7 separate regions of the Homo sapiens genome follow, and all the other regions are linked to region 3. The links are contacts of gene promoters, found by promoter capture Hi-C in blood cells and fetal thymus (Javierre and others, 2016). All regions are on one chromosome and are shown on one strand. Each heading gives the region's core, a stretch centred on a gene start or on the middle of the fragment in contact. The rest is flanking DNA. Distances are from core to core; before and after follow the strand shown. Region 1 overlaps CLNK (cytokine dependent hematopoietic cell linker). Region 2 overlaps CLNK (cytokine dependent hematopoietic cell linker). Region 3 holds the start of HS3ST1 (heparan sulfate-glucosamine 3-sulfotransferase 1). Region 4 overlaps CLNK (cytokine dependent hematopoietic cell linker). Region 5 holds the start of ZNF518B (zinc finger protein 518B). Region 6 overlaps CLNK (cytokine dependent hematopoietic cell linker). Region 7 overlaps CLNK (cytokine dependent hematopoietic cell linker).

The links. The method cuts DNA at HindIII sites, captures the fragments that hold promoters and counts their contacts. A CHiCAGO score of 5 or more calls a contact.
Region 1: a contact is called between a fragment that was not itself captured here and the fragment with the promoter of HS3ST1 in region 3, in 15 of 17 cell types (total B cells, naive B cells, M2 macrophages and 12 more). The highest score is 22.6, in total B cells.
Region 2: a fragment that was not itself captured here is called in contact with the fragment with the promoter of HS3ST1 in region 3 in 7 of 17 cell types (total B cells, naive B cells, megakaryocytes and 4 more); the score reaches 18.3 in total B cells.
Region 4: a contact is called between a fragment that was not itself captured here and the fragment with the promoter of HS3ST1 in region 3, in 8 of 17 cell types (total B cells, naive B cells, M0 macrophages and 5 more). The highest score is 13.8, in total B cells.
Region 5: the fragment with the promoter of ZNF518B here is called in contact with the fragment with the promoter of HS3ST1 in region 3 in 12 of 17 cell types (fetal thymus, M1 macrophages, total B cells and 9 more); the score reaches 13.9 in fetal thymus.
Region 6: a contact is called between a fragment that was not itself captured here and the fragment with the promoter of HS3ST1 in region 3, in 16 of 17 cell types (total B cells, naive B cells, M1 macrophages and 13 more). The highest score is 19.9, in total B cells.
Region 7: a fragment that was not itself captured here is called in contact with the fragment with the promoter of HS3ST1 in region 3 in 3 of 17 cell types (naive B cells, total B cells and monocytes); the score reaches 6.7 in naive B cells.

Annotation. Positions count from the first base shown.
Region 1 is chr4:10,590,268-10,592,967 of GRCh38, reverse strand. The region is part of intron 3 of CLNK (cytokine dependent hematopoietic cell linker); the gene reads left to right. Among named protein-coding and RNA genes, the nearest start is that of CLNK, 93 kb to the left of the region's middle. The HindIII fragment of the contact is 5,413 bases long and covers 1-2,700 here.
Region 2 is chr4:10,612,684-10,615,383 of GRCh38, reverse strand. All of the region lies in intron 2 of CLNK (cytokine dependent hematopoietic cell linker), which reads left to right. Among named protein-coding and RNA genes, the nearest start is that of CLNK, 71 kb to the left of the region's middle. The HindIII fragment of the contact is 7,189 bases long and covers 1-2,700 here.
Region 3 is chr4:11,427,454-11,430,153 of GRCh38, reverse strand. HS3ST1 (heparan sulfate-glucosamine 3-sulfotransferase 1) reads left to right here and starts at 1,260. Exons shown (of 2, transcript NM_005114.4): 1 at 1,260-1,455. RefSeq lists a silencer at 1,115-1,294 and an enhancer at 1,385-1,604. The HindIII fragment of the contact is 3,893 bases long and covers 1-2,700 here.
Region 4 is chr4:10,631,506-10,634,205 of GRCh38, reverse strand. All of the region lies in intron 2 of CLNK (cytokine dependent hematopoietic cell linker), which reads left to right. Among named protein-coding and RNA genes, the nearest start is that of CLNK, 52 kb to the left of the region's middle. The HindIII fragment of the contact is 3,385 bases long and covers 1-2,700 here.
Region 5 is chr4:10,456,145-10,458,844 of GRCh38, reverse strand. It overlaps ZNF518B (zinc finger protein 518B), which reads left to right and starts at 1,419. Exons shown (of 3, transcript NM_053042.3): 1 at 1,419-1,528. RefSeq lists a silencer at 1,304-1,943 and enhancers at 2,074-2,233, 1,496-2,311, 2,294-2,353. The HindIII fragment of the contact is 4,989 bases long and covers 1-2,700 here.
Region 6 is chr4:10,572,711-10,575,437 of GRCh38, reverse strand. All of the region lies in intron 4 of CLNK (cytokine dependent hematopoietic cell linker), which reads left to right. All of the region lies in intron 3 of LOC105374481 (a long non-coding RNA gene), which reads right to left. Among named protein-coding and RNA genes, the nearest start is that of CLNK, 110 kb to the left of the region's middle. The HindIII fragment of the contact is 6,904 bases long and covers 1-2,727 here.
Region 7 is chr4:10,648,347-10,651,046 of GRCh38, reverse strand. The region is part of intron 2 of CLNK (cytokine dependent hematopoietic cell linker); the gene reads left to right. Among named protein-coding and RNA genes, the nearest start is that of CLNK, 35 kb to the left of the region's middle. The HindIII fragment of the contact is 1,760 bases long and covers 518-2,277 here.

The sequences.
Region 1 (2,700 bases), core at 43-2,542, 840 kb after region 3:
ATCATTTGAGGTCAGGAGTTCCAGACCAGCCTGGCCAACATGGCAAAACCTGATCTCTACTAAAAAATACAAAAATTAGCCAGGCATGGTAGTGGGTGCCTGTAATCCAAGCTACAAGGGAGGCTGAGGCAGGAAAATCTCTTGAACTCGGGAGGTGGAGGTTGCAGTGAGCTGACATCACCTCACTGCACTCCAACCTGGGCGACAGAGTGAGACTCTGCCTCAAAAGAAACTAATAAATAAATAAATAAACAAACAAACAAACAAACAAACAACAAGTAGATGCTCAAGAAACATTGGCTGATGGGGGAGTAGGAAGAAGGAAGAATCAAGGCAGAACCCTAGGTTCTTATGTTGTGGATAACCCTAGGATGCTGTTGATCTGTAGTATACCGAGAGCCTCCTATGATGCCTGGCACTTACTAGATACTTAAATAGACGTGAAAAAGAAACTTCAATAGGGAGAGAAGGATGGAGAAAGGAGGAAGAAGACAGAGACCAAGTGGGGAAGTGGGGGAGGCTCAGAGAGTGGATGAAGGGATTTCAGGAGTGGCTCTGCCCGCTAGAGGAATGTCTGAGCTAAAACATGTCTGGCAAATCATCCTGCTACTCTACTTGTCTGCTGCAGAACCCATCAGAGTGTCAAATATTTTTGTTTTTGTTTTTTAATATGTATTGGGAGCACTGATTGATAGCTTATAGGAACAGGACTATAGCTTATATAGACATGTTTTCTGCCCTCAAAGAACTTAAAGTCTAATTGAGGAAAGGAAAAAAACTCAAGTAAGGTTTTACAATATGAGATTTAAATAATAAATGAATAATTATATGTCATCGTCCAGATTTACTAAATGCATGATTCGAGTAAGAAGTGCCACAGGTTCTCAGAGGAGGGAGGAGACCAGACAGGCCCCGGCAGGGCAGGGTCTGAGGAGGTGGGAGCCTCACTCGGCCAAGAGGGTCTTGGGTGTATGAGCTTGATGAGAGTTGTGAGTGGCACTAAACACTTCCAGTGTTTTTCCCAGGTCCCCTTCAGGGAATTACATGCCCCAAATATTTCTTATACAAATAAAATAGGTAAGAGGAGAATTCTTGAAACCAATAGGGAATGCCTTCTAGAAAGAATGAACCCATGGATTCACTTATTTAAAATGAGCCTTGGCCTGATTCCACCTCAGAGTGAATTTCATCTGGATTGAGAGAGGCTCTCCAATCTCTAATCTTGAAAATGTACAACCGATTCCAGGGGAATTTAAGTGGCACTTGTGCACACACGTGGAGTAGTTTCCTACTACGTGCCAGGCACTCCATTGGCCTTGCTCGGATAGGACAGGTCCAGGTATAGACCCAGACATGATCTGCAGTGTATCTCTGGCCCGTCTCACTTTGGGATGCCCTCTTTTGTATATTTCCCTCTGCATGTGCCTGTGGCATTCATTCACTCACACATTCACTCACTCTTACCCATTCAGCACCACATTGGTGTGCACATGCTCCAGGCACTGTGTTAGGCACCAGACCTCCCATTTAGGAGCTAGAGGTTCAGGGTAGGCAGTCTGAGAATTCCAGTTGCATTCTGTTCTAGTTATGTCAGTGTGAGTTCCATTACATAGGTACCAAGAATATGCCCAAATAAGGAGAAGAGGGCATTGGTGGCCACATGGGAAACAAGATAAACGGTCTGTCCAGGCCATCATACCTATTCCCTAGAATATTACAGAGTCCACTCCTCTCTCAAATCAATGCTGTGTGTTCCTACGTTACCTCTGTGAGACACAGTTCTAAGCATCCTTTACTCTTGCAAACCTCCACACGACCTCTAGGATGACACAGGCTTTGCTCATTCATCCCTCCAGATTCCCTACTGTCTGAGCACACTGTGCATTTCCAAACCATAGTCCCCACAGCTCCATGGTGCAAACGCTCCACCTTTGAGTGGTGGAGAGATGTGTCATCAGACAGACTCGGTGGCACTCCCAAGAGGGCTAACCTCAGCTAATCCATCTGCAAAATTAAAGGGTTCGTTTATGGTGTTTAATGTCCCTTTTGGCACTAGTGATATTTTACAATGGCCCTAAAATTGAGATAAAGATGCTTTCCACCAAGAATTGCTATGAGGTTTGAGTGAAATCATTTTTGTACAGTGCTCAGTTCCAGATGCAGTGCAGACGTTCAACTAGAGGAAAGAAGGTGATGAATGCAGAAACTTTCCATCCTTCCTTGTTTTTATCTAGATTATATTTAAAATGAGTAACTCTTAGAAGTACAAATTGTCTTTCAAAAATCAGAGAATCTTATTCTAGAGTAGCCTTCTAATGTCAGGGGGTGAACTTAAAATGAGATGTGGAGCTGGGCCAGTTAATTTCAGAGGTTTGAGAGAGAGAGAAGGCTGGCAGTGTGAAATCACCCTGATCTTTTCCCAGGGGTTTCGCTGCTGAATTCTGGACTAACAGTCGGTGCCTGGGGAGAACCAAAGGACTGCATACCACACTCAAGGGGGCAAAGAAAGATTCATCTCCATGCCAGGAGCTTGACCCTGGAGACAGAACCAAATCCCTCTCTATGGGACTGGAATAACACACCATCCAAACTCTGTTCCCATGGATAAGTAGAAGGCAAGCATGCCCTGTCTACTTCATCAAAGCCAGTTCTGCTGGGCAGCAGGAGAGAGAAGTGGAAGAGGGGGCGGAGTTTACTTTA
Region 2 (2,700 bases), core at 68-2,567, 810 kb after region 3:
TTCCAATCCCAAGTATCTGGGATTATAGGCATGTGCCACCATGCCTGGCTAATTTGTGTATTTTTTAGTAGAGACAGGGTTTTGCCATGTTGGCCTGGCTGGTTTCGAACTCCTGGCCTCAGGTGATCTGCCCGTCTTGGCCTCCCAAAGTGCTGGGATTACAGGCATAAGCCACCGCGCCCAGCCTCTTTCTTGTTTTTTAAGAGTCTCACCCTGTTGCTCAGGCTGGAGTGAAGTGACACAAACTCGGGTCACTGCCGACCTCCACCTTCTGGGTCCAAGCAATTCTCCTGCTTCAGTCACCTGAGTGACTGGAATTACAAGTATGCACCACCATGAGTGACTAATTTTTGTATTTTTAGTAGAGATGGCGTTTTGCTATGTTGGCCAGGCTGGTCTCGAACACCTGACCTAAAGTGATCTTCCCTTCTTAGACCTCCCAAAGTGCTGGGATTACAGGTGTGAGCCACCGCACCCAGCCCCTTCTTTGCTCTTCTAATCTCTGTTATTAGTGCACCCAGAACTGATAGCAACCAGATGACCTCTGTGATTAGGAGAGTGGGTACTCATAGGAAACAATCACAACAAGGCTCTTTATGTATTGATTTTTTGATCCTTACAACAATTCTGTGACATGCTGTCATCAACTGTATTGCAGATAAGAGAAATAAATCCCAGAGGGATCACATCAACTTCCTCCAACTTGAATGTGCACACAGATTCCGTGGCCTCTTATTACAATGCAGATTTCGGTTCAGTGGGGCTGGGGTGGTGTCTGGGATTCTGCCTGCCTAACCAGCCCTTGGGAGATGCTGCTGGTCTGGGAACCACACTTTGACTAGCAAGAAATGGGAATTCTCAGGCTGAAAAACAGATCTGGCCAGTTAGCCAATTCCAAATCCCACACTCTTAATGTCGATGATATTCAACCTTCTAGAAGAGCCTAAGTCTGCGGAGGAGAGTTCCTGGAGAAACAACGGCATCATAGATATCTGTAGAACCAAGGATGAAAACTCAGCCTTACTTAAGGGAACCAGGGCTCTATGTGGATAAATCTAACATATCCAGGTCACCTGGCATCTCTGTAATGACAGTGTTTACCATTATTTGAGCCACTCATCAACGTGCTAGTTACCATACACACAAGATGTCTAACATCCCACAGAAATTTCCTACCAGCAGGCTCCATGCAGACATCTCACCCAGACATCTGCCAGGGGAGGAGAATTTAATCACTACATTTACTGGAGTTTGAGCCAGAAGACTCTCAGAGCCCAAATAATCTAAATTCCTATATTACAGCTGGAGAAATTTCAATGTGGAGAGGGCAGGCACACTATGAGTCCGATGTTGCTCTCTCAATCTCCAGTTGGTATGGTGGTTGCCACTGAGGGTGGCCTGGGCATTCAGGGTCCTTGGTCAGCACCTGGCTCCCTGCTTCCTCTGGAATCTTAAGCACATTCTCCAGGTGAGACAGAACCTATCCTGCAGGTTGTCAAAGACAAAGCCACAGAGTCAGATGAACTATTCAGGATGGAACAAGGGAAAACATACAAAGTGGGCTTGCTTTTTTAATGGTTTCCAAAAGAGCAGACATTCAGGAGAGATTAATTCTGTGGGTGAAGTCTCAGCTACTACAAAGAGAGTAACACCTCCCCTGCTCCCACCCTGTTCCATCTCCTGCTGGGGTTGTGGCAATAGCTTCCCAAAGGGTCTCTCTGCTTCCACTTTATCCCTCAATGACATACCTATTCTCTAGCCAGAAGACAGAGAGATCCTATTGAGTCATAATTGTTATCTTTGTGTTCCTGTGTCTGAGACCCTGACATGGCTTCATAGCCATGGCCTAAGTCTAGTGCCTCTCAATGACTACAGACAGGGTATTGTCACATCTGCCTTGATTCTCCCAAAAGGCTCTTGGACCATCTTCCCCATCCATCCCTGCAGGCATTCCAGTTCAGCCACGTGGACCTCATTACCTTGATTCAACTACTTAGCCACATTCCTGCCTTTGAACTTTTCCTTCAGTTATCCCACAGCTGATGTGCCCAGTGCCTTTTCCCTGTTCCCATCTTTCCAGCAAGGCTCACCTTGACCACCCCAAGGACTATTCATACCCACCTGCCCACCCCACCCAGCACTCTGATTCCCCCACCTGCTCTACAGTCCTTCCAGAGCACCTTATCACCTGCTAACATGCTATACCCATTCCTGATTCATTCTGTTTACTGTTATTGTTGTCCTTCTCTGTTCCATGGATAGAGATCCTTTTCTGCTTTGTTCCATAGGAATTAGCCATCTTCTTTATTTTGTTCACTGATATATCTTGAGCACTGAGAGTAATTCTCGGCCCACATTGAGCACTAAGAAAAAAATAAATGTGTTGTTGAATTCATTTTGGTAAAAATTTCTAGCCTAAATACTTACTGAGGACTTGTTCTATTCCAAGCATGGTTGTAAGCATTTTGCATGCATTATCTCATTTAATTCTTACAATATTCTCAATATGTAGCAAAACCTAAACACCTTCGATGCCAAATGCTGCTATTAAACAGTCCCTGGGGAACACAGATGAGATATAATGATTGACTCCAACCCTGGCTTCCTGGGTTTGATTATCTTTTGATAAGTGCTTTGAAAACCCATGTCTCTAGACAACATGATAAGATAGATCTGCCACACCCCAGAGCTCATCAGCAT
Region 3 (2,700 bases), core at 11-2,510:
TCACTGTGTTGTTTTCTGAAAGTGCCGAGGGTAATCTGTGTATGAGTTAAAGGGCCAATTTCCTATAGGAACCTTCTCTTAGATGGGATTTTTTTTTAATTAAACAATGTTGGTGAAATATATTTAAACGTAAATCACAAATTCGAAGTCTTCCAAATATTTATTTACTAATGTGGAAGACATGGAAACTACAGTAATCTCATTTAAAGGAAGTTACTTTGATGTGCATTTGCTTTTGGCGGGGTATGATTGCTGACCTGCCTTTGAGGGCAACTTCCTTTGGCTCAGGTAAGCAGGCAAACCCGTTTCTCCAAGGCGATTCCAACCCCACGCCCCTCAAAACCTTAAATCTTAAATTGAGTTATTGGGTGCAGGTCCTTTCTCCCACAGAACCTCCCAGCTTCCGGAATAGAGGAGCGGGGCAGAAATATCCTGCTTTTTATTTCAGAGCTGACGTTTGCAATCCTAGTGCACTAGCGGAAAAAAAAAAAAAAAAAAAAAAAAAAAAAAGCTGAATTTTCCGCGCTCTCCTGGCAAATTGGCGTCCGCTCTCCGACGCTAAACCAAAGGAAAAGGAGTGTTCAATGGCGACAGGGCGCTCTTTGAAGCCGGCTCCTCACGCGGATTCTGGCCCAGGCCGCCGCTCCGGTCCCAGTCCGGCTGCAGAGCGAATTGGAGAGGATGGCACCTCCTGCTTCCCGGGGGGCGGAAGGAGCGCCAGCGCCTAAGGTGGGTCACCTGCCAGGAAGGGAATACGCATGGTGCAGACTCACGTGGGAGGAGCACAGGTCCCGGGTACAAGTGCCGAGCTGGCGACTTAGAGAAGAGGTAGACTCGGGCTCAGACCAAGCAGGCGTAAGGGAGTAGACGGGACGTCCCGTGTTTGCAGTGACGGCGGAGTCACCCATCCCAGCAGCCTCACCTTCTTGGAGCGCTGGTCCCTCCCCTTGGACTGAAACCCCAGGGGCCACCGCACCGGGTGGGCGGGACCGACTACTACCCGACCAGCCGCTGGAGCTGCGTGCCAGGCGGGGCTGTGCGGAGCAGCTGAGCGCAGAGCGGAGCACCAGGCACCTAGCGGGCCGGACTCTGGGCGGCACCCGAGCGGGCCGGGCAGCAGTGGGCGCTCGCGATCCTCCTCTGCCCAACGCGCTCTCCCTCCGGGCCCGGCCTCCTCCGTCCCCTCCTTTTGCTCCCGCTCCTCCTCCCGCTCCTCCCCCTCCTCGGGATTGAGCACCAAAACGCCCGCCTGCAAGGTCCTCTGCGCCCTGGCAGCCAGGAGTCGCCGCCACGACAGCCGGGTCTCAGTGGGTGCCTGCGCCTTCTCCCCGCCCGCCTGCCCCGGGCCATCCAGAAACTTGCTCTACCCGCCGCGGGTGCTCGGCAGTGCTGCCCATGGCCCAGCCTAGGAGCCTATTTAGGGCGCCGGACGGGCTGGACAGAGGCGCGGCTCAGGTGAGTGCGGCGCGCGCGGGGTGGGAGAGTGGCAGGACGCAGGTGTAGAGGGCTCCGAGGTGCCTTTGTCTGGCGTTCTGGACTTCGGGCAAGTGCAGAACCTAAGAAGAATCGAGGCTGGAGCAGGTGGAGTGGATGCAGAGGGAACCAGGAAGCAAAGGCTGGGGATTTTCCCATCCTCCTCACCTCCTGCCCTAGCACCTCTGCTCTGGAAGTCCCGAGGGACCGGTTGATCTGTAAGGACAGGGACCCAGATTTCTGACTCTTACTGGGTTGGATGTTTTCCCCCCCTGCAGAGTCGTGAGGTTCGCTCCTGCCGGCCGCTTCGCGACCGCAGCTTCACCATAGGACCCTGTAGGGCAGCGAGAGCGCAGCACTCAACGGATCCTGGGTACCACCTGGGGCCAGAAACTGGGGCGAGGACACAGCCCGCAAAAGTAACTCGGCTGAGGGAGCCTTTGGGGGTGGAGAAGCCTTGGTCGGGTTTGCCTTTGCATTTGGTTGGAGATAGGCATCTCCCAAAGAGAGAGATTGAGGTGACAGCCCTGACAATAAACCTCTCATCCCTAATGCCAATTACATGAGGGTCTTGATTTTTTTCTTGTTACTTTTTACTGATTTTTTTCCCCCTTCGTGGTTTTCTATTTCCGGGCCCTTGGGTAGTGGCAGCGGATGGAGGTGAGGGATGGCGGGGTGCGAACCCGCGGTTGGAACGCCTAGACCCCAGCTCCCAGGAAGGGTCTTATTCGCGGAGCTTGACCTCTCCAGGTGCGCTCTACCAGCCAGGGGGCGGACGGCGCGCTGCTCCTCCTTCTAGCCCCAGCCTGTCCCAGGAAGCGGAGGACAGACCCAGAACGTAGGCGGATGATGGGAAGAAGAAGCTGGAGCCAAAGCCGGGTGCCGGCGCGGGATGGGGTGTGCTGGGCTCTGCAGTTATAGGTCTATAACTCTGCAGTTATAGGCGCTATAGGTCTTCCATCTCTTTCCCTCCCCTGGGAGCCAGCGATTCCTCGCACACTCAGGGCGCTCTCTTGGGCCAAGGGTTGCATCCTCCCTCTTCCTCCTCCTTTGCAGATCCAGTGGTACCCTTGCCTCGCCTTGCGCGAGTCTCGCTCCTCCCTTTCCCACAATGTTATCATGAGCTATTTTTATCTACAACTTGTGCCAAGATGCTTTTGGGGGGATTCTAGGGAGGCCACTCCAAATCCACTGTCTTTGCGCTGCGCTCCGAGAAACAGTCTCCTG
Region 4 (2,700 bases), core at 169-2,668, 800 kb after region 3:
TGTGCCCCTTCTCTTCTTATGGGCCTTACTAATGACCCTGATGGACTCTGTTTCTCTTCTCTGAGCTCTGGCACCTTAAAAATGCAAGTATTATCCAAGGGGAGTGACTTCAACATGATGACAAAGGGAATGGCTCAGGGTGAGCCCATCAGTCTGCACCCAGCTCTACCTGTGTGATCTTATACAGGGGGCTTAACTATGCTGAATCTCATTTTCCTTGTCTGTAAAATGGGAGTTCTCATTCTGACCTCACTAGTTGGCCTAAGTATTAATGGGAACTCAGTGCATAGCTATTACCATTATGCAACTGAGCACCCAACATTGTTTAGCCTTTTCCAGTACAACCAACCACAAAGGGCTGATATAGGGAACAAATGAAATATTGTATGTGAAAGTGCATAACAATATCTAGCACTGATTATGGCAATAGTATGATTGCCAATTCTATTACCATTATGAGTGACAGATTCTGTCTGCTTCTGTATATACAGCCAAATTACATTTGTACTGTTTGGAATGGTATGGAGCAGTTATAAATGAGTGAAGTACAAGGATGACAGAATTCTTGCTCTTTGGAGACCTTGCAGATAGACACCTACGAGCATTGGTTCTAGGCTCAGATGTTCCTGGATTAGGCATGGGTCTCTGTCAAATTGCGTCTCTCGTTTTCTTCACCTGCAAACCATGATCACAATTAAATTCACCATATAGGGAATGGGAATTAAATGGGAGAATGTAGATGAAGCGTTAACCTATCATCTGGCACAGAGTAAGCGTTCAATAAATCTGTGCTTGCATCAGATGCTCTGGGAAAGCTGCAGCCCATCAGTCGCAACAAAGCTGATGAAGATGGTAACACATGCACAAAGAATAACGCTGTCGACTTGAGAGAATGCACATTCTCTAAACTTAAAAACTTTTAGCTTTGATTCTAGCAGGGAAAGGAATTTCCAAATTTAAAATTTTCCAGGCCAGGTGTGGTGGCTGATGCCGTAATCCCAGCACTTTGGGAGGCCGAGGCAGGCAGATCACCTAAGGTCAGGAGTTCGAGACCAGCCTGACCAAACTGGCCAAACCCCATCTCTACTAAAAATACAAAAATTAGCCTAGTGTGGTAGCACATGCCTGTAATCCCAGATACTCAGGAGGCTGAGACAGGAGAATTGCTTGAACCCAGGAGGCAGAAGTTGTAGTGAGCTGAGATCACGCCCCTGCACTCTGGCCTGGTTGACAGGCCTCAGTCAAAATAAGATAAAATGCTTATCTTTTCTCTGTCTCAAAATAAGATAAAATGCTTCTGTTATGAGTTAGCTAGCAGCCTCATCTGCTTATTTGGGCCAATTTTGAGGTATTTTTAAATAGTATTTAGTTCCTAATACATGACGAATGCAAAAGTAGTGAGAGCATTGAAAATTGTGCAAATGAAAATTGAGAATTTTTCTGTGAAAACTGAATAAAAATGACAAAGGTAACATGGGTGTGTGGCATGATCTTTTCAATAGTAAGAACATTCTTGAAGACAAAGAGAAAGTCTGTTGTGTTTAAAAAGGGGGGCAATGTGCACCAATGGCATTTAGCAAGAGATGAGCTGAAGTGAATGTCAGGCACTAGGCTAGACCTAGGGGTACAATGATGCACAAAAAAAGATGACCCTGCCCTTGTGGCATTTCAACTTAGTACAGGAAATGAATATTCCACAAATAGTCACACAAAGGTTGTAGATGTTAAATGAAAGTTGTATAGTCTGATATGCGTGGGATACTGTGCATGTTGCCTGGGCAGAATTAGAAGTCCCTCCCCCTCTCCTGATGTATTCCTGTTGAATTCCTGCTAAGGGCTAAGGACATTGTCTTCACATTTTGTGGGCTTGGAGATAGAAAAAGATGATGGTGGACATGGCAGAGGTCAGATGGAGAGAGGTGGAAAGACTCAAGATAGTTTGGAGGGAAAATCTCCAGCATTGGTTATGAACTGGTCCAGAGGCATGAGATGGTCAAGGACGATGCCTGGACACTCGTACTGTACAACTGGGGAAAAGAAGTTGCCATTCACTGAACCAAGGAAGTCTGGGAAGATGGAGTTTTGAATGTTAAGAGTTACGTTTTGGATATTTTAAATTTTACATGCTTATCAGTCATCCAATTAGAGATAGCAGGTAAACACCCTAGACAAGAGCTATTCATGCCTTCAGCCACCATGTTATACTGCAACTCAATCTGTAAATCAGGTAATGCGCACCTTGAGCCTTCTATTTCAGAAACAGGGGTAGGTGTTTAAATAAAAAGACAGACCTCAAAAAAAGACATATTTGAATCCTTACCCAATTGTCCAATAGCTGTGTGACCTCTGAAGGAGAATTGAGAAAATCCTTTTGCCTGTGTGAGCTTCACTAAAAAGTAAAGGTAACTTCTATGTCATAGAGTTGCTTTGAGACTAAAAAGAACATTTTCTAATTGGCAGACACTACAGTTGAAATATTTTCCCTTTCACTTGTTCGTTTCCCTTTCTCTCCTCTATATCTTGGTTACTTGGTAATGAGGCTAGAATGAATTAATATTAGACACGAATCAAAGATTACTGAAATTGTTCTGTAATGTTTAAAATTATTTGCTTTACCCCTAGTTCCTGACCATTGCATATACATGTCTAGATTAACTGATTGATCAACTGCCTATCCACCAAGGGTCCTCATCTTATTTT
Region 5 (2,700 bases), core at 170-2,669, 970 kb after region 3:
GATGTGGCTCTGTTTGCCACTAGAGATTTTCAGGCAGTGGCTCCTAGTTTGGATTCTCAATGCCTTTCCCAACTTGACCCTACTCTTGAGGGAGACTTTGAACTCTCTGGCATATTCTCTCTGATAGGTGCTATCTGCACATAAATGTGTTTTTCTGAGAAGAGGTTCCTTAGCTTTTCTGAGCCCTAGGAGATAGAAAACCAGGACCCTAGCAGCTCCCTGATCAGGACCGAGGTTAGGAGCACTGCAGCCTAGGGCAGGAAGAAGGATTTGCTCTCTGGGCTGCTATTTTCTCTGCCCAGCTCCTGATACTTTAGTGGTGGAGGTTTTGCCCAGCTGCTGGACTTGTGGCTGAGCCTGTCTTCTTCAACTCCGCTTCTCCGTGTGGCAGTACTGCCCAGGCCCACATCTCCTCCGTGCAGCATACTGGCCGCTGTCCGTGCACGCCGACCTTTGGCCGCCAACAGGAAGGTGATGGAAACCAGCCTTGCCCCGCCCCCGCCTCCAGAGCTTTGAAATAAACTTTAGCTGTTCATCCCGAAGAAACTGTACTTCCCAGTGACGCTGCTCCCATGCCTCAACCTGCCCCTGCTGGAGAGCTGTTTCACTTTGTGGGGAGTCACTGATTGTGCGGGACCTGGCAATATGGTCTTCTTCTTTCCTCTTAGAGGCTCTATTCTAAATATGTCTTCCTTCCGGACCGTAGATGCAGGTGTATCTAGAGGGCAGTTGGCTCGCCCAAAATAGCACCGAAGTCCAGGAGGCAGGAAAGAAACTCTGGCATTAAATGAGCTCACACCCTCTCCAGACTCCCACAGTCATTGTCCCCTCTGACCCTCGCAACGCCCAACTGCTAGAGGAGGCTTTGCGCCTCACATACGACCTTCCCCGTCTTCAGAAATGAAGACACTGAGAGAGGTCAGGGGACTTTCTCGCCAAGGTCCAGCAGCTAAGATGTAAAGGAGTAGGGAGAGTCAGGATTTGTACCCAGGACTTCAAGGCCATCTCCTTCACTGAAGCTCTCCAAGAAGACGAGTTTGGAGGCTGAGGACCTGAGCTCCTCTTCTCTCGCTTTCACTCACCCACTGCAGGACTGCAGGCTCCAGGGAGGCAGGCGCCAAGGCCGCCCTCCGCGGGACCCGGTACAAGGCAGGCGCCCCGGGATGGCAGACTGGGCCAGGACCGAAGCCGAATCCTTCTTTTGCCTGCGGCATGGCTAAATGTGGACCTCGCTCGCTACGGTGCGAACGTGTTGGGTCAAGCTCTAAGCCCAGAAGTGGGGCTCGGCTGGGTCTGAGGCTCCCCGCTCTGGACAGCTTAGAAGCCCGGCGGGGGCGGGCGCAGCCTTAGAGACCTCAGGCGCCGGCCTCGCTGGAGCCGCGCCGCCGCTTCACATTGCGCACGCGCGGGGCTGGCGCGGGCTCCGCCCCCCGGGTAGGGACCTACAGCGGGCGCGGCGCCGGCGGTCTGCGGCCGGCGGTGTAGACGCCCCTTCGCCGGGACCTGGCACCCGAATCCGGCCTGCCGGGTAAGTAGCTGAGCGGGAGGGCGAGGGCCCCCGGATCCGCGTGTACGTGACCGAAGCGCCAGCTGCGGCCGGGTCGTGGGGGCGCGCGGGGCGGGGGCCTGACGGGGCCAGGCCGGGGCGGGTCGAGCGGCCGCGGCCCCGCGTGCCCGCGCTGAGGGCTGGCGTCGTGGCAAGTGGCACCGGGTAGGCCGAACGCGGGCTCCGGCTGGTGGGCGTGGGGCACCGGCTGGGGTGGGGGCCCGGGCCGCGGCTTGGCGCGCGTTGAGCAGGTACGCGGGCCTGGCCTAGGGTCGGGGTCCGGCCCGGCGCCCCCAGCTCGCCTTTGTGCGCCGCGACCCCGCGGACTCGGCCGACGCGCCGGGGCGACCGAGGCGGGGGTGGCAGCGTCCCGCGGGGCCGTTCGTGTGGCGCCGCTGGCCCGGCCTGCGCTCCCCGCCCCCAGCGTTATGAAGGATGCCTCCTCCGAGGGCTCCTACCGTCCGCGCCGAGCAGGAAGTGTCGTCAGGAGGCCATTTTTAAAGCCTCCTGCGGGCCTCGGAGCTGAGCGTTGACGGTTTTGGTTTTCTTCGGTTGGAAGAACCCCGGCCTTCCCTCGCGGCGAGCGGGACGCGCCTGGGAGACGACGATGCGCCCGATGCACCTGGCCTCGTCCTCCGAGCGCCCAGGCTCAGGCGCGCTCGCCTCGGATGCTGCCTGCCATCGGGGGAGCGTGCCGACAATAAACTCGAAAACCAGCCTGGCATTGTCTTTCCTTGAGAGGGTCAGGGGTGGGCTCGTCCATCGAGGTCCTGCGCATCTTTTACGGGGGGCGAGGACATAGGAGGTTGAGAAGAGATGGTGAAGGTTTGAATTGTTCCAAATGCTGATGTCATTGTGGGACCTCCCCATACCGGCCTGCCCGTCTTATCTTGGTGTCTTTGGGGTTTGGGGCTCTGTAAAGCCAAGAAATTGCAGGGTTCAAAAGAATGAAAGTTTCTTAACCAGAAAGGAAAAGCCAAAAGAGCGAACGGGAGAAAACACTTAAGTCTTTATAAGTTGGGTAGTTAATGTATCCCGTTACAATACCTCTGACTTTAAAAATTGTAATAATGAACGATTTATCAACGTAACATTAAAAAAAAAAACTACAGAGCATTATGTCCTATTTAAAAGTACAAATCTACGTAGCTAAA
Region 6 (2,727 bases), core at 125-2,624, 850 kb after region 3:
GAAGACCCCTCCAGGGGAGATGACATTTCAGACACAGTTGGATGGTGGACAAAGATCCAGGCATGGGCAGAGCCAAGAAAAGAGGGCTCTAGACAGAGGGATGGTGTGTGCAAGCTCCTGAAGTAGCGTGAGCTGGGTGTGCTGGCAGACTCAAGGAGAGGCTGGCTGAAGCAGCTGAAGTCGGAGGTGAGAAAGAGGTAAAGGAAGAGTTTCATGATTCTTATTGCAGAATGCTGAGACAGGCTTTATTCCAGACAATGGAGATAGGTACGGGATTACCACAATGAGTGCAGTACGGGAGAGACTGGGCTCAACTCAGAATACAATACGGACAAGTGGAAATTTATAGCCAAGGTGTAGCAGGACAAGCTGCAGACAAAACCCCTCAGACACCGAGTTAAAGAAGGAAGGGCTCTATTCTGCCAGGAGTTTTGGCAAGACTCACGTCTCCAACAACCGAGCTCCCCAAGTGAGCAATTCCTGTCCCTTTCAAGGGCTTACAACTCTAAGGGGGTCCGCGTGAGAGGGTCGTGATTGACTGAGCAAGCAGGGGGTACATGACTGGGGGTTGCATGCACCAGTAATCAGAACGGAACAGAACAGGACAGGGATTTTCACAATGCTTTTCCATACAATGTCTGGAATCTATAGATAACATAAGCGGTTAGGTCAGGGGTCAATCTTTAACCAGGCCCAGGGTGCAACGCCAGGCTGTCTGCCTGTGGATTTCATTTCTGCCTTTTAGTTTTTACTTCTTTCTTTGGAGGCAGATATTGGGCATAAGACAATATGAGGGGTGGTCTCCTCCCTTAAAGGGAGTGGCGTGAGGGTCTGGGAAAGGAAAATTACAAAGAGGAAACCTCAGGGGTAAGGGAAAGGGCGGGGGCAGAGGTGGTTTCCGGCTAAACTGACCTGAAATGTTCTTGCGGAAGGCAGACCAGGGTGATCAGACATCACCAGAGGAAGGTGGCAGAGGAGGGCCCTGATTGGATGAGATATGGAGGCTGATCAGACATGGAGAATGGGAGATTCTGGCTAAACTGACTGAGCAGGAGTCTTGCAAAAATTGGACAATGCAGAAATGAATATGGAATCCCACAAGGTAGGGCCTCACAGAGAAGAGAGTTCAAGGTAGCCTGACTACAGTTTGGTCCAGGAGAGAAGAGGCTGAAAAGGGATGAGGTCAGAGAGCAGGGTGGGGCAGGTTGTGCTGAGCTCTGGGGGCCACACAGGGCACCTAGTCTGTATGACATGGGCCATGAGTGACATGAACTGATGCACGGTGTTAGGATCAGGCTTTAAAATTGCATTTTCCAAAACTCTGCACTGATGACACAGATAGGTACTCTAGGAGACTGAGAGATAAAAGGCAATTCCTTCCCTAAAGAACACACAACAAAAAAGTAATCAGATCCTGCCTATTCGTATTTAAATGTCATGGTGAGTGAGACAGAAAACATATGCGTTAACAATTCAGTGAGATTGATGTGGCCTGGAGTAGTCAGAGAGAAAAGCAGAGAAATGGGATCTGAAAGGATGATGAGCATTTGGGAAGCAAAGGGGAGGTGAGAGGGAGAAGAGGCTCCAGGCAGGGTCTGTACCCACAGACACAGAAGGGGCATGAAGCGTATTTGGGGAATCTGGGAGAGTCTCAGGCTGGAACGCTCGCCTCTGGTGAGAAAGGAGACCCCGCAGCTCCCCAAGAAGATGTCAGTATCATGACCGCACTCCTTGAGGCCAATTTTCTAAAATGAAATTATATTGAACCCTGAATTAAACAGTGGAGTTGTTTTCCTCGATAACGAGGGCCAGAGCAGATCCCCAATAATTCTGAGCTCATTTGCTCCTTCCGGGCCAGCTGGTCTTTAATGGGTGACCTTATTAATTTAACTCGATTCATGAGAGAGTACAAATTGCTGCTCTAAAGGGCTGGAAAACGTGTTGGTTTCTCTGCCAGGGATCTCAGTGGGGATGTAATTGTGCTGGGTCAGGAAGGTGTCATCAGTGCCCTAGAGCTGCTATCCAACCCCAAGGATGGGCTGGGACCAGGGGCAGGTGTAGGCAGGATTCTGTTCCTCCCAGCTCATTATTTCAAGGAGATTAGCTCTGTCTCATTAACACTTCCCATATGTACTGGTCCTAGGCAAATTCCAGAGAACTGTGTTTCCACTGAGCCAAATTTGCATTAATTTGTACATTACACCTTAGAAAAGATTTGGGCATGCTGATACAATTAACAACTCTTTATTTCATATTTTGGTAAGATAGGGGAATTCAGAGTGAAATAACTAATGTTTAAGAAAATAAAAGGCCAGGTGCCATGGCTCATACCTGCAATCCCAGCACTTTGTGAGGCCAAGGTAGGCGGATCATTTGAGGTCAGGAGTTCGAGAATAGCCTGGCCAACATAGTGAAACCCATTTCTACTAAAAATACAAAAAATTAGCTGGGTGTGGTGGTGTGCTCCTGTAATCCCAGCCACTCGGGAGGCTGAGGCACGAGAATCGCTTGAACCCAGGAGGTGGAGGTTGCAGTGAGCTGAGATTGCACCACTGCACTCCAGCCTGGGTGACAGAACAAGACTGTGTCTCAAAAAAACAAGAAAAAACAAAACAAAACAAAACAAAATGGGAAAATGATAAAGCCAGAGCAAGAAGTAGAAATGCTTATCACATCGTGGTCCTCCACAATACTTAGATGAAATTCAGAAATTTATCCTGAATTTCT
Region 7 (2,700 bases), core at 148-2,647, 780 kb after region 3:
TTCCTGACTTTTTAATGATCGCCATTCTCACTGATGTGAGATGGTATCACATTATGGTTTTGATTTGCATATCTCTAAGGACCAGTGATGATGAGGTTTTTTTCATGTTTGTTGACCGCATAAATGTCTTCTTTTGAGAAGTGTCTGTTCATATCCTTTACCTACTTTTTCATGAGGTTGTTTGTTTTTTTTTCTTGTAAATTTGTTTAAGTTCCTTGTAGATTCTGGATATTAGCCTTTTGCCAGATGCATAGATTGCAAATTTTATATGTCAAACCTTCCATTGAGGATTGCATTTTTCAGTATGAAGAACAAAATTTGGAATTTTTTTTAAATGAAAGCATATAGTAAGAAAAGACTTTTTAATGCTAAAAAAGCCTTTATTTTCTTACAATGATAACTTCATTAGAATTTATTAGACATATAATTTCAGATTGACAGTTGTTTTCTCTCAGACTCATAAACTTATTTCTTATTCCCTTTGGCAAACAACAGGTATTAATGAAAAATAAAAGCTTTTGAAGGCAATATTTATTTTCTCTCTGGATGCTTTTAAAATCTTCTCTATGTTTTTTGGTTTTCTGTAGTTTTACTATAATATGGATAGATGTGAGTTTTTTCTTATTTAACCTGCTTTGGATACGTTGGATATCCTGATTCTCTATTTTGTTGTTTTTCACTATTTCTCAGTACTCTGTCATTATCTCTTTGAGTATTTTTTCCTCTCATTCTTTCCCATCTTTTTCTGAAACTTTGATTAGATGTATACTAGACCGTCACGTTTTAGCCTTCATCTCCCAACCTTTCATTCAGAGTTTCTATTTCTTCACTCTAGCCTGAATGCTGAATGATGCATTTTAAGGATTTACATATCAGTTAATGAGTTAAGTATCTTTATTTGTGTCTAAACTGTATTAAACCTATAATATAATTTTTTTCACAAATCTACTTGATCATTTTTATGTCTCATTTTTATTTTTTATATGAAAGTTCCTTTTCCTTAGTTAAACATAATATGTACACTTTGTTCATGTGTCCACTAATGGATATATGGCTGTAACATTTGTCCACTAGTTTTAATATCTAGACTGAACAGCTAATCCTGTTGTCTGTCATTTCTTCTAGTTCTCACTTTGCTGCTGTTATCTGAAGCATTTTTTTTTTTATTTTGTCTGCCTGCTCATATTTCTTACAAATTAACCCATGGGAATTCTTTGAGGCCTGGGTTGAAATTGTGCTCCCCCAGAGAAAATTTGTATTTGTTTTTTGGGGTGCCTAAAGGAACTATTAAAACAGGCCTTCCTTACATTACTCAGATTGAAGGTTTCTAGACAATCTAGGCTGGAATCCCATGCATATTTGTTAATTCTCAGGAGGAAATTTTGTCCCTTAAGTATCAATGTTTGAGAGTAGAGAGGTAGGCTTATTTCTAGTTCACCCTTACCCTGAGAGAGCAGCTCTTTAGGGGCCAGTTTTACACACAGGTGGGCCTCCTATTAGACTCCTTTCCGTCACTCTTCTGCTAGATTATTCCACAGTGTAGAATATGTGAGCTTTGTATCAAGTCTCCCATGTTCTGCCAGGCCATGAAAATTAAAGGCCATTTTCCTCTGTGTTGGCAAAGCAACCAAGGAGAAAGCGATTTCAGTTCTTTGCTTCTCTTTCTAGGTTCTCATCTTTATTCACCTTCATTTAGATTTTGGACTCTCTCTGAATAGTCCCTGCTTTTGGCATCTATTAACTGAAAATTAGTTGCTTAAAAAACTTTGCTATTGAAGGTTAATCATGATATCTGTTTATTATGCTACAAGAAATAAACAATATTCTCCCTGTGGAATTCAATTTTTTTATTTTAATAAAATTATAGTTAAAATAGAAGGAAGTAGGATTTTACGTTTTTCATTCAATCATTGGTGCTCTTATTTTTACGTAAAGAAAAGTAACACATCTGTTCTTTGCTTAACGTGATTCACTAACGTTTTACAAAGGCACCTTCAACGAGCATGAATTAAGCTCTTACTGCATGCCAAACTTTGTGCTCTTCCTATTCAAATACATTATCTCAATAGATTTAATCTTCAGAGATAAAGGATTCAAGGGCTAATCTATATATTAAGATGCAAAAACCAGATCTCCCTGGTTTGAGAGATGAAAGAGTGGAATGAGCACTGACCCTCTCATTGTCAGGGAAATGTGAAGTCGATAAGATGCATGAGATGATTGAGATAACTTTGAGAAGAATTTTATTAGTACTGAGCTTCTGTGTTCTTTCAAGCTTTGGGCATGAATGTCTAGAAGAATGGAACAAAGGGGAAACCATTGACTCAGAACCAGAAAGCCAGAGCCCTCATTTTCTCTCCACCTTTCACAAGCTCTGTGAACCCAGGCAAAACCTTTACTCTGTAAGCCTTGGATTTCTTCATCGGAAAAAGAAATACTATAACTTCTACCAATTTTCTCCACCATCTTTCATATGACCATGCTTGAAGTAGCAGAACATTTGATCATGAAGATAGATGACTATGGCTGCTGTGACAAGAGATTATGTGAGAAGAGATTAAGCCTTGAAATAAACCAGACCACAGTTCCAATCTTTTCTCTGCTAGATAAGAGTTACATGATATAATGTATGTAAAGCACATGAGAAATATGTGGCATTGCATGACACTTAATTTTTAGTTCTTTGATCTTGGAGTCCTA